2 separate regions of the Homo sapiens genome follow, and region 1 is linked to region 2. The links are contacts of gene promoters, found by promoter capture Hi-C in blood cells and fetal thymus (Javierre and others, 2016). All regions are on one chromosome and are shown on one strand. The core of a region is centred on a gene start or on the middle of the fragment in contact, and the rest is flanking DNA. Distances in the headings are between cores, read along the strand shown. Region 1 overlaps GALNT1 (polypeptide N-acetylgalactosaminyltransferase 1). Region 2 holds the start of ZNF396 (zinc finger protein 396).

Region 1 (7,160 bases), core at 1,459-3,958, 270 kb before region 2:
CCAGGATCACTAGTTTTACATCATACTAACCAGACAGAGGTATTACATATGAGAACCTTCGACAAATCTATTTATTTAATTAACAGCTAGAGTTTCTGCCAAGAAAACTAAAAGACTTAAAAAAGACAAGTGTTATCCTCCAATACAAATAAAAGAGCCTAGATTATTTTATTAATTTTATATTCTATTTGCTCTATTTCTCAAACAGAACTATAATCAATGTATTAATTCACTTATTAACTCATTCAGTCACCCAAACAGTAAATGTAGGGAATGTGTCAAATGCAGGGAATACAAGGGTGAACAAAATGCACACACTCCCTGACTTTATGAAGTTCAGAGTTGGCTCCAGGGAAGCAGACGTTAATAATCATATAAATGTGAAATTCCAATTGTGATAACTGCTTTGAAAGAAGGTACACAGCTCTACACACATCTATAATAGATTTGACTTTGTCAAAAAGGCTTCCCTAAGAAAGACATGGTTTGAGGGAAAATAAGCATTACAGGCAGTGAATAGTAAAGGCTCTACAGCAGAAAGGAGCCCAACACTGAAAAGCTAGTGAACTGAAGAAAAAGAAAAGGAAACTGTGATGTGAGATGAAGCTGGAGATGATAAAAGTGGGAAGATACAAGAGATACGATGGGACAAACTCAATCCTAGCTTGTACAGCTGGACAGAGAAAGGTGTCAATCATGGAAATGGGGACCAGTGAAAAAGGACCAATTTTTGGAGGGGAGGAGAAGATGGGAAGAAACGTTAAGTGTGATTTGGGACATGTTGAGTATGAGGTGCCTTTGAACCTTCAATGAGAGATGCTACCATGGCTGCTTGGATATACACAGGGCTCAAAGGAGAGGCCTGAGGTAAAGATATCCAGACAGAAGCCCTTGACTTATGCTACTCTGTAGGGCAGACAGACTAAAAGAAACACACAAAATACTTTTTGTATCATTTAACTTCCTCCTAGAGTGTGGGCTGGACTTAGTGACTTGCTTCTAACCAACAGAATATGATGGAAGTGAAGACTGAGTCATTAAACACTCTATGGCCTCCCCCAGCACTCTCTCTGATCACACTCTGGGGAAGGCCAGTGCCATGTCAGAAGGATGCTTAAGCATTCCTATGCAGAGGTCCACATAGTAAGAAACTGAAGCCTCCTGCTTACAACCAACATTATGCTGCCAGGCATGAAAGTGAGACCCCCTTGAAAGCAGCCCCAGGCAAGCCTTCAGATGACGGCAGCTCCAGCTGACATCTTGAGTACAACCTCATGAAAGATCCTGAGCCAATATCCTGCTAAGATGCTTGATATAGTTTGGCTCGGTGTCCCCACCCAAATCTCATGTTGAATGGTAATCCCCAGTATTGGGGAAGGGACCTGGTGGGAGGTAAAAGGATCATGGGGGCAGATTTCCCCCTTGCTGTTCTCGGGATAGTGAGTGAGTTCTTAGGAGATCTGATGGTTTACAAATGTGTGGCACTTCCCCCACCTCTTTCTCTCTCCTGCTCCTCCATGGTAAGACATGCTTGCTTCCCCTTCACCTTCTGCCATGATTGTAAGTTTCCTGAGGCCTCCTAGTCATGCTTCCTGGTAAGCCCGTGGAACTGTGAGTCAATTAAGCCCCTTTTCTTCATAAATTATCGAGTCTCAGGTAGTTCTTCATAGCAGTGTAAAAATGAACTAATACACTGCTCTTCCATTCCTGACCCAAAGAAAATATGAGATAATAACTTCATTGCTTAAAGCCATTAAATTTTTAGGTAATTCATTACTCAGCAACCGAAAACTTCAACAGCAAACTAGAACTAGAAAGGGAATTCTTTAATCTACAATAAACATCATATTTAATGATGAAGCTTCAGTTAAAATAAGGCAAGTTATGTATCCTCACTTCAGTCTGACACTGTACTGAAGGTCCAAGCAACAGATAAGAAAATGAATTAAGGATTAGGGGGAAAAAAACAAAATTATCATCTGCAGATGGTATGATTTCTACATAGAAATTATTTAAGAATCAAAAGATAAACCATTAGAGCTAATTATTGATTTCATAAGGCAGATGACTACAGATGAACATATAACATCAGTCGTGCTCCTATATGGTAGTTATAACTATTTAGAATATATAAAATAAACCGGCCAGGTGCGGCAGCTCACGCCTATAATCCCAGCACTTTGGGAGGCCACGGGCGGATCAGGAGGTCAGGAGATCGAGACCATCCTGGCTAACACGGTGAAACCCCGTCTCTACTAAAAATACAAAAAATTAGCCGGGCATGGTGGCGGGCGCCTGTAGTCTCAGCTACTTGGGAAGGAGGCTGAGGCAGGAGAATGGTGTGACCTGGGAGGCAGAACTTGCAGTGAGCTGAGATTGCGCCACTGCACTCCAGCCTGGGCAACAGAGCGAGACTCCATCTCCCAGAAAAAAAAAAAAAAAAAAAAAAAAAACATTCAAAATAGCTATGAAAACCCAACAGGTGCAAGAGGTGAAGAAAACTGTGGAGCTTTATTGAAGGATACAAAAGAATAACTAACTAATGAATAGATGAGAAAATGAATACAAGGTTATTCCCAAAATTAATCTATAAATTCAATATAATTCTTATCAAAACCCAAATGAGGCTTTGGGGAATGGATTTATTTATTTATTTATTCATTTACTTATTTATTTATTTTGAGACAGAGTCTTGCTCTGTCACCCAGGCCGGAGTGCAGTGGTGTGATCCTGGCTCACTGCAACCTTTGCCACCTGGGTTCAAGCAATTATCCTGCCTTAGCCTCCCAAGTAGCTGGGTCTACAGGTGCATGCCACCATGCCTAGCTAATTTTTGTATTTTTAGTAGAGAAGAGGTTTCATCATGTTGACCAGGCTGGTCTCAAACGCGTCACCTGAAGTGATACGCCCGCCTCAGCCTCCCAAAGTGCTGGGATTACTGGTGTGAGTCACCACGCCTGGCCTGGACTGAATTATAAAGCAGACGTACTTAAAACCATATGGTAACCCAAAACAAATCCATACAAGTGTGAAAAACTAAAAAGATGCTACTACAAAGAAAATTGGTGCAGGGACAAGTGGCTTTCCATATAATTAAAAAATAAACTTGGATCCTACCTTATAGCAATATAAAAGTGAATATGTAGAAAGATAACTGAAGCCAAAATTGTCAAAACCAAGTAGCAGCTATTCTGGCTTACCCCTAGTAGCCAAAGTGAGTACGGCTCCAGTCTCGTAGGCTTCAATTTATATTCCCAGCTTCCTATAAAGTGTTCAGGCCAATACTTCTGCCACAGTTTTTGAGCTGTCAAGTGGTTACTGATCGAAATTTAGCACTGAGAAGCCTTATTCGATAGCCAAAGAAAAAGGAGAACCAATTTTCAGGTCTTGGAATCTTCTTATTCAACATAAGTATTTAACAAAAAATTAGCAAATAATCAATCCAAAATTCCTGCCCAGATTGATGTCCACATTCCATTAAAACCTGGATATTCTCTTTCTGTAGTTATTTCCCGGGTGTTATCTCAAGTTTAGAGGTCAGAAGAACAAGCTTATCATTTGGGGTAGTCATGATGTAAATAAACTCCTATAAAATTTATTGGCTCGAATGTTTCAAATTAGAGAATACAGTGTTTAGTGTCTTGAGTGGAATGTCAGTTTTTAAGATGACAAACTGACTTCCACCAATACCTTTAAAAGTTTATATTTTTCCTGTTTGTAAAGTAATGTATGTTCAAAACAAAGAACCTGGCAAACAGAAAAGCAAAAGATACAAACTCCCTACAAATTTGCATCCCAATGAAACACCAATGGGTTAAATGCCCTTCCAGTCATTCAGAATAGTAGATATGTGTTTTTTTTTCTTTTTTTTTTTTTGAGTCAGTCTCACTCTGTTGCCCAGGCTGGAGTGTAGTGGCACGATCTCGGCTCACTGCAAGCTCCACCTCCCCGGTTCACGCCATTCTCCTGCCTCAGCCTCCCGAGTAGCTGGGACTACAGGTGCCTGCCATCAGCCTCCCGAGTAGCTGGGACTACAGGTGCCTGCCACCACGCCCTGCTCATTTTTTGAATTTGTAGAGATGGGGTTTCACTGTGGTAGCCAGGATGGTCTCGATCTCCTGACCTCGTGATCTGCCTGCCTCGGCCTCCCAAAGTGTTGGGATTACAGGCGTGAGCCACCGTGCCCAGCCAGATATGTGTTATGTTTTAAACCAAGTTTGTAACATCTATTTAGACTCAAGTACTTAATGCCTTAAATGTCCTTATGGGAAGAAGGGAAGGAGACAGGTGTGACTATAAAGTGGTAGGAGAGCTGATCATGCTGTATTTTTATTTTTAACAGGTAATAATATGCTCAACAGACATTTCTAACCCCTCTTCCCACCTCGGCCATGTCTCAGTGCCATGTCTTAGGCAACATCTTAGCGTTAACATCAAAACAGCCCTGATATCCACACAAAGGTGTGACAAAATGCCACACATATTGCTTTACAATTAATACATATGTAACCATTACAAACAGAAGTGGCTGCCGGGCTCATGATTCTGACCCTTAACCTCTCCTCCCCTCCTCAAAAGGTTTCTTCTGGTAACAGATCCAGTTGCCTGGCCACAGTATGACCTAGCCAGGCTGACCACAGGACCTGACTCCTTGGCCTGAGTCACAGACCTGGAAGGCTGTGCTCTAGGACTGCGCTCAGTCACACTGCCCCCGACATGGAGAAGGCCACTTGCAGCCAAAAACAATGTGGCCAAGCAGAGACATACAGATGAGTGGCAGAGCACCCTGACAGTGACCAAGTCCCTGACTCTTCCTTGGCTTCAGTGACCCAACGAGGAATCCTATTAGTCCCCTTTTCTGCTTAAGAAAATCTGAATTGGGTTCCTGACACAACCAGAATGCTTGGGGAACCAGGGAAGAGGGGGCAATAGGTAAAAAGCAGCTTCTAGTCTGCTGATGAGCTTCCACTCTGTGGGTCATAATTATATATTATGAGACAGACTATACTATTTGAAAAGATACTTTTTAATGCCCCAGATCACAAAAACTTATAAAATATCAAAAGAGTACGTATAAAACATGTCACGGAAATAAATGATCACAACACAACACACATCTCCACCACCTGGTTTAACAATAAGAACATGATTTTTAAAGTTCCCTCTCAAATCCCATCTCTTCCCCAACTCTTCAAAGGCAATCCCTATTCTTACGGTCCTTCCTTGTCCTGATAATTTAACCTCACGAGTATCTTTAACAATGCCTTATTTATACTTGACTGTTTCTGAAGTGCTTATAAGTGGAAAAACCTGACTTGCTTTTTTCTAACACTGTTTCTGAGATTTATCCATATGCTTGGATCCATCCATGCATCCAATTCCATTTCACTACTGAATAGTATTCCGCTGGCTTAGCAAACCTATTTCTCTACTCTTAACAGACATTTGGGTTCTTTCTAGGTTTCCGTTATTACAAGCAATACTGCTATGACCATTCCTGAACATGTCTACTAGTACGCATGTGCAAGAGTATTTATTTAGAGAAGAGGTCAGTAAATATTTTCTGCAAAGGGCCAGATGATAAAGATTTCAGGCTTTTTGAGTCATGCAATGTCTGTTGCAACAACTTAACTCTAGTGTTGTACCATGAAAGCATCTGTAAGAGGTACATAAATGAATGTGACAATATTCCAAGCTTATTTTTGGACACCAAAATTTGAATTTCATATAATTTTCACACTATAAATTACAAAATATTATTTTTTTTAAGCACTTAAAAATGTTAAAAACCATTCTTAACTCATGAGTCATCACACCGACCCCTGATCTAAAGTATATACGTATGGTTGTTAGGTGGCACAGTATGCATATTTTCAATATGATCAGATATCACCAATTTGTTTTCCCAGGTGGCTGAAACCACCCACCAGATGTGAACTGTTATATCACTGCACGTGGTGGATGTGTTATATCGTTGACAACACTTATTACTGTCAGACATTTTTATTTTTGACAATCTGATGTAATTGGTATCTTAATATAGTTTTAATTTGCATTTCCCCACCATCTCTGGCATTACTGATCATTCCATTTCCTCTTCTCTAATATGCCTACTGAAGTTCTGCTCTACTAGATGTGTTGTTTTGTGTTTTTCTTGTTAGTCTGTGAAGATCCTAATGTAGCCTTGTGTGAGTTAAATGTACTGCAGTATCTTTTCCCAGCGTTTTGGAGACAGGGTCTCCCTCTGTTGCCCAGGTTGGAATGCAGTGGCACAATCATGGCTCACTGAAGCCTCAACCTCCTGGGCTCAATGAATCCTTCCCACTTCAGCCTCCGAGCTAGGACTACAGGCACACGCCATCATGCCCGCCTAATTTTTGTATTTTTTTTGCAAAGAGAGGGTTTCACCATATTGGCCAGGCTGGTCTCATACTCCTGGGCTCAGGCAATCCTCCCACCTCAGCCTCCCAAAGTGCTGGGATTACAGGTATGAGCCACCATCCCAAGCCCTTTTCCCAATGTTCTTAATAAAAAAGAAGTATCTTTGTCTGGGTATGGTGGCTAATGCCTATAGTCCCAATACTTTGGGAAGCCAAGGTGGGAGGATTGCTTGAGGCCAGAAGTTCAAGACCAACTTAGGCAACATAGCAAGACCCCCATCTCTAAAACAAAAAAAGTAGCATCTTTTACGGTTCATATTTTCTATGTTTTAAGAAAATCTTCTCTATCTAGAAATCATTATAATGTTTTAATATCTAAAAATGTTAAAGGTTTGCTTTTCCCATTTAAGCAGGGATTCAATGTCATTCCCTCCTATGTGGATAACCAGCTGTCCAAGAACTATTTATGGAAAGCTCTCTCTAAAGGAGTGTAATACCAACTTTGTCACAAGCCAAGTTTCTGGGTTTCCATATTCTCTTCTATTGATCTATCTCTCCCTATACCATACTGTTGTCTTAACTTTTACAGCTTTATACTAATTCTTCATATATGGTAAAACAAGTCTTCTCACCTATCACAACTTCTTTAGAGGAGTGTCTTGGCTACTCCTGACCTGTTAAGTCTTCCTCAAAAATTTTAGAATCAACTTTTTAACCCAAAAATAAAAGTTGTCATGATTCTGACTAGATTGAAATAAATCTATAAATAACTGGAGAGAT
Region 2 (6,470 bases), core at 3,704-6,203:
GGCCTTTAGAACTGTGAGGAAATATATTTCTGTTGTTTTAAGCCACCAGATTTGTGATAATTTGTTGCAGTGTCCACAGGAAGCTAATACAAGTGCCCACTGAAATCACCTGGGGAGCTTTAGCTACATTATTTCATTTAATCTTCAGATTATTATGATCCCAATTTTATAATCAGGAAATAAGGATTAGAGAATTTTAGGACTTAACCCACAGTAGCTTGCGGCAGAGTTGGGGAGTGAACCCAGGTTTGTCTGTTGACTTTGAGACCACATTGGATTTCATAAACAAGGGAAAGAAAAATGTGTAAGATGACTCCTAAGACTTACTGCCTGGAACATAGAGCTAACAGCAGTTTCACTATCAAAGCAAGGAATTTGGCCTATTGAGGGTGATGGAGAGAGAAGATGAACTCAGTTTGGGATACTTCCTGATATGGTTTGGCTTTGTGTCCCCACCCAAATCTCATTTTGTAGCTCCCATAATCCCCATGTGTTGTGGGAGGGACCCGGTGGGAGATGACTGAAGCATGGGGGCGGGTCTTTCCCCATGCTGTTCTCATGATAGTGAATGGGTCTCATTAGATCTGATGGTTTTAAAAACAGGAGTTACTCTGCACAAGCTCTCTTTTCTCTTGCCTGCTGCCATCCACGTAAGATATGACTTGCTCCTCTTTGCCTTCTGCCACGATTGTGAGGCCTCCCCAGCCATGTGGAACTGTAAGTCCAACTAAACCTCTTTCTTTTGTAAATTGCCAGTCTCAGGTATGTCTTTATCAGCGGCGTGAAAACAGACTAATACACTTCCTTAATTGTTTTCCCAACTTGATACTTTATTCACGTCTTCCACTAAGGGAGAGAGAGCTCCCCTAGTTCCCTCACACAAACTCTCATATCTGTTCACTGTGTGAAAAAGAGTCATTCGAAATCTAAGCTGCTAGAACTCTAAATTATTTTAGGACTTGGAAGAATGTTATTACTGATCCTGAGTCACATGGTAGGCACCTATAAACTAGGGAGCTATAACCTTCTGTTTCTCTGATTACAGATGAAGCCTTTTCCCTTACCTGCATTGTTTTGTAAAATGTTATATATGGCCAAAGGGAAGAGGAAGACCCCTTCCCTCTCCACTGTTGGCCTTTATTATAGATTCACCTTTCTCTTACCTTTCTCACACACAGACTTCTTGACTATCACATTGACTTAAGATAGAATGTTAAATACACTCTTTTAAATTGGAAACCAAATGAAAACCAACTATAAAGAAAACAAGCTATATGGAAAAGAAAACAAACTAACTAATTAATTTGTTGAAACTATTAAGCCAGCCTTGTATAGAAAATGTTGCAATCCTGATAAATTTCTTTGTCTTCTTCCTATATTAGCAAGATTTAACTTTTAACTTTGGAGCACTGATCCCATTTCTCTGGAGTCTGTGTGTCCTGGAATGGCTATTCCCAGCTTTTTGTTTGAATAAACTCTTTAAAACTGGATTCTGACCCTTTTATTATTTCAGGTTGACAAGTGTGTACCCACACTTGGACTCCTACACATACAACCCATCCACCACTTGCTTGGAAACCATAGTTCCATTGTAGGCAAATTGCTTTTTATTGCTCAATCTAAATTTCTTTTTTTTTTAATTTTAAAGTTTTTATTTTTGTTAATTTTTTATTTCAGTTTTGGGGTACATGTGGAGGCTTGTTATACAGATTAACTGAATGGGGGTTTGGTGTACATATTATCTCATCACCCAGGTAATAGGCATAGTGGGTAGTTTTTGAACCCCGACCCCCCACTCAAGTAGGCCCTAATGTCTATTATTCCCCTCTTTGTGTCCATGTGTACTCAATGTTTAGCTCTCACTTATAAGTGAGAACATGCAGTGTTTATAAACCTAAGTTTCTTTTTTTTTGAGACAGGGTCTCATTCTGTTGCCCGAGTTGGAGTGCAGTGGAATGATCATGGCTCACTGCAGCCTTGACTTCCTGGGCTCAAGTGATTCTCCCATCTCAGCCTCCCAAGAAGCTGAGACCAAAGGTGCATGCCACTATGCCCAGCTAATTTTTGGTATTTTTTTGTGGAGATGGGGTTTTGCCATGTTGTCCAGGCTAGTCTCGAACTACTGGGCTCAGGCAATCCTCCTACCTCGATCTCCCAAAGTGCTAGGATTACAGGCATGAGCCACCATGCTTGAGCCAACCTAAATTTCTTAACCTTCTAATTCCTTATCCTATAGAAACATGGCAGCTGTGTATAATACATCCACTTCATGCACCTCGGGTCAAAAAAAACAAGGGTTATGTGTTTAGACAGACACAGATCCATGCCCCTAAAAGCTTCTACCTAGGTGGAGAGCAAATATGTTGGGATGAAGGGAGTGGTGAAGAGTACAAAGTTGAGAAATAAATGTCTCTATAATGTCATTGTAGAGTGATTGCCTTAGAAATGGTTCATAAAAGTCATAGAGATCTTTACATACCTATATAAGGGAAGCATTCAGATATAAAACATGTTTGATATTTATTTTCACATGATCACACAAAATGTCCAATTATGTGCAGTTATTGATGATAGCATCCCATTCAGCTTCTGATCCAGTCTACCCAAAAATCCCCTCAAATATCCACATAAGCCATTGTCAAACATACTCTGTTGTTTAACTTCCCTGAATGACACATTATGTACCCAATCATCTGTCAGTCTTCCATCTAAGCAAGCACCAGCCTCCCAAGTGTTTCCAGAATCTGCCTCCATTCTCGTCCCCTCTGTGCTAGTTCAGACCTTCACCAGCTGCAGCCTGGATCTTTGCAACAGCTTCAGAGCTGGTAACCCTGTCTTGAGTTTTGCCTCCCTTCAGATCTATCCTTCGTGTTGCTATCAGAGAGCCCTACCTGAATTGCAGATGTGCACATGCCACTAATTCAAGTTTCTGCTTAAAACCTTAGTTCATAGCCCTTTACTTGGCCTGTCAAACCCTTTAAAACTAGGCTGCTGTTTGCCTCTTCAGCCTCATCCTCAGCCACTCATCCTGCTGTCCTTTAATCCAGCAAATCTAAACAACATCCCACACTGGTACCTCAGTCTCAAATGTATCAACACCAGCTTTCTCCATCAACTCCAATCCCAGTCTCTACCCAGGACCTCCCTTTCTTTGTGCTTTTATAGTATCCTGCAGTTGTCTCCATCAGAATGTTGCCACATTGTTTAGAAAAGTCAATTTATTCATCTTTCTCTTTACTTAGTCTATTAGCCCCTAAAGGGCAAGAATCTATATTTTACCATTGAATTCCCGGTGTTTACGATACAACTGGTATATAGTAGGTGCTCACCCTACTGGGACCTTATTCCTGCTAATTTCTTTTCACTTTACCCCCAAAATTTTTAAAAAATTAAAACAGCAAACAAAAACCTGTTCTTGCTCTAACTACCTGACTGTGAAACTTTTCTAATCAATCTTTTATGTCTGCTCCCTTTTTTGTTGTTGCTGTTTTTAACTTTGGCCTCTGATATCTGGCTGTTTGGTGGACCATACCCATGAATTCATCATCCCTGACCTCTTGCCACATCCCACAGTTCCTCCTTCTCCTTGAAGCTTCTGACTGTCGTTCATATTCTCCTTAAATTGTCTCCTGTGACTTCACACCACTGCCAAGCCTTGCCCTCGTTTCAAATTCTCCCCTGACGTGAGTCATTTAACCTACCCTACCCACCAGCGCCAGAAACACATTCCCACCTGCACTTTTGGGCTGTTTGCTATTTGTGTTGGCAGCTGCATCAGCAAAAAGTCTTATCCTGTGAAAGCCCCTTGTTTGAAGCAAGAATTTCTTCAGATTTAGTTTTACTGTACTCTAATTGGGATCCAAACCTCTCCCTAGTCCCCTAGCGTCATAAACTGAGTAAACCAGCCTCTTCTTTCTTCACTTCAGATTCCAGTACTAACATACTTTTGGGGCGGCGTCATACCAAAAGGGATTTTTTGTTATTGTTCTTTATTAATTAGCAAGTGCTTTTCAAGCATCTCCGTCCTCTCCCTAATTCCTCAGTTACGAGTACAAGTACATTTTCCAGGAGTCCCTAGGGAAAGGGGCTAGAGAAGGAAGTCACGAGGTGGGGCTGTGGTGCATTTAGGCTTAAATTTATTTATTTATTTATTTTTTGAGACGCTCTCACTTTGCAGCCCAGGCTGGAGGGCAGTGGCGCAATCATGGCTAACTGCAGTCTCCACCTCCCCAGATTGAGGTGATCCTCACCCCTCAGCCTCCCAAGAAGCGGGGACTACAGGCATGCGTCTCTACACTCGGCTAATTTCTGTATGTTTTGTAGAGATGCGGTTTAGCCATGTTGGCCAGGCTGGTCTCGAACTCCTTGGCTCATGTGATCTGCCCATCTCGACCTCCCAAAGTGCTGGGATTACAGGCATGAGCCACCGCGCCCGGCCTCAAACTTATTTTTCAATTGAGATTAAGATTATCTGAGGAGAGATATGTGTATGTATTGTAACAAATTTTATGTGGGTCAGTTCTCACTTTTTCAAGGGCCATTGTGTTCTCCTGTGAAAGCATGGGGTTGCGGATGTCAAACTTGTCCCTTAAAACGTCAGTACTTGGGGTGTAACCACTTCGGGAGTGGGAATGGTATTAGGGATTGTACTCAGCGGTAGACAGCACAGCATTCGCCCCTCTCTGTAATCCTTGGCAAGTCACAGGACATTTGAGTTTATTTTCTGTAAAATGGGAATAACCTTACTGAGTTACCGGAGTAAATGAATAATGTAAGCAAAAGCACTTTGCGAAGCAACAATGCTAGTTTATTGAACGGAACACTGAGCAGAGCAGCTGGATTCCCACCGGTCGAGCCTCCCGGTTCTCTTTCCCTGTCCCAAGTGCGCGGCCACAGCGGCTCTTCTCCATGGCAACGTCCCCGCGTTCCGGGCCCCGCCCCGACCCGCCACCAGAACCGGAAGTTGTTGCGCAGCTGGCAGTTCCCCGGTTTCTCCCCGACGGCGTCGGGAGGTGAGACCCGAGGCCTCTTTAGGGCCCCCAGGCTGCGGTCAGAGGCGGTGGTCCCCGGGTGGTGGAAGGGGGACGCGGAGAGGCGGCCGCGGACTCGTCGCCACCCCTCCCTTCGCGCGCAAGTGCAGCACCCTTACACCGTCCCAGATCCCCAGGCCCCTCCCCTCCGCTGCCTGCCCCTGAGTCCGCGCACCCCTTCCCCTCGTCCTTCCCCGGCGGACCCCGGGCGCCTGCCCTGCCAGGTGAACCCGCGCCACCTGCCGCTTCGCCCCGGCGGTTCCCAGCCTGGGAGGCGCGCGGCGCGGCGCGGTGGGCGCGGGAGGTCGGGAGATGGTCGGAAGCCAGCCCTCCCAGAGCCGGCCCACCACAGCAGGGTAGAGCCGAGAGCGGCGTCCCCTGCAGAAAGACCCCTGCGTCCCAGGCTTTGATCGAAGCCTCCCCTCCAGGGACGTTCTTTCTGGTTGTCGTGCGGTGTCGGGGGTTCCTTACCCTCACCTCAGGTTTAGCACAGATTCTGCGCCTGGTGCTGAAGTGACAGGGCGGCCACTCTCTTCCAGAGGCTGCTTTAGCCCCGGGGTCCCTCATATATCCCTTAGGGTACCTGACGGCTCCAAACCGGTGGCCTCAACCCTTCCCACCTCTCAGGTCTTGTTCCCCAGACTCTTCTGGCCCCGCTTCATCTGGGAGCGCGGCTGCCTGCCGCCACTTCCTCCTCTGCGCTGAGACAACGCGCAGGGGTCACCACAAGGGCCCCTGCTGCCTATGGCCTCTAACCACACAGCACCATGGATAAATGTGGACGGCCTGGGTTCAGACCCCAGCTTTGCCCTTGGCCAGAGTACCTGGCTTTGCTGTGACTGCTTCCCCGTCTACAACATGGGGGTAAAAATAATCTAGGGCTTTTATGAGGATTTAACCTTTGTTTATTTTTACTAAGGTGTTCAAAACAGTGCTTGGCACATAGTAAATTCTGTTAATATGTGTGTCTGCTATTGTTTGTTTCATAGCACATCATTGTGTAAAGTTGTATCATTTATTTGGTAACAACTTTATGAACTCACAGGCTTTATACAGGGCCTAGAACAATACTTGGTGAAGTGAGAAAATAAGTCAAATGGCAGGATACATAACGATGGAAGACGGAGGCGCACGTAAGATTTTTAAAGTAGTCATCATTTGCTGAAGTTGTACAAACACTATCATATACCTCCTGCCCAATTTAAAAAATATGATTAGACCGGGTGCAGAGCCTCACGCCTGTACTCCCAGCATTTTGGGAGGCCGAGGCAGAGGGATCACCTGAGGTCAGGAGTTCGAGACCAGCCTGGCCAACATGGTGAAACCCCGTCTCTACTAAAATTATAAAAATTAGCCGGGCGTGGTGGTACACGTCTGCAATCCCAGCTACTTGGGAGGCTGAGGCAGGAGAATCGCTTGAACCCAGAAGGCAGAGGTTGC

Evidence for each region. The method cuts DNA at HindIII sites, captures the fragments that hold promoters and counts their contacts. A CHiCAGO score of 5 or more calls a contact.
Region 1: a contact is called between a fragment that was not itself captured here and the fragment with the promoter of ZNF396 in region 2, in 1 of 17 cell types (M0 macrophages). The highest score is 5.1, in M0 macrophages.

Annotation. Positions count from the first base shown.
Region 1 is chr18:35,640,512-35,647,671 of GRCh38, reverse strand. The region is part of intron 1 of GALNT1 (polypeptide N-acetylgalactosaminyltransferase 1); the gene reads right to left. Among named protein-coding and RNA genes, the nearest start is that of MIR3975, 52 kb to the right of the region's middle. The HindIII fragment of the contact is 1,689 bases long and covers 1,864-3,552 here.
Region 2 is chr18:35,375,820-35,382,289 of GRCh38, reverse strand. ZNF396 (zinc finger protein 396) reads left to right here and starts at 4,953. Exons shown (of 4, transcript NM_001322286.2): 1 at 4,953-5,012. RefSeq lists silencers at 5,168-5,237, 5,248-5,437. The HindIII fragment of the contact is 6,702 bases long and covers 3,595-6,470 here.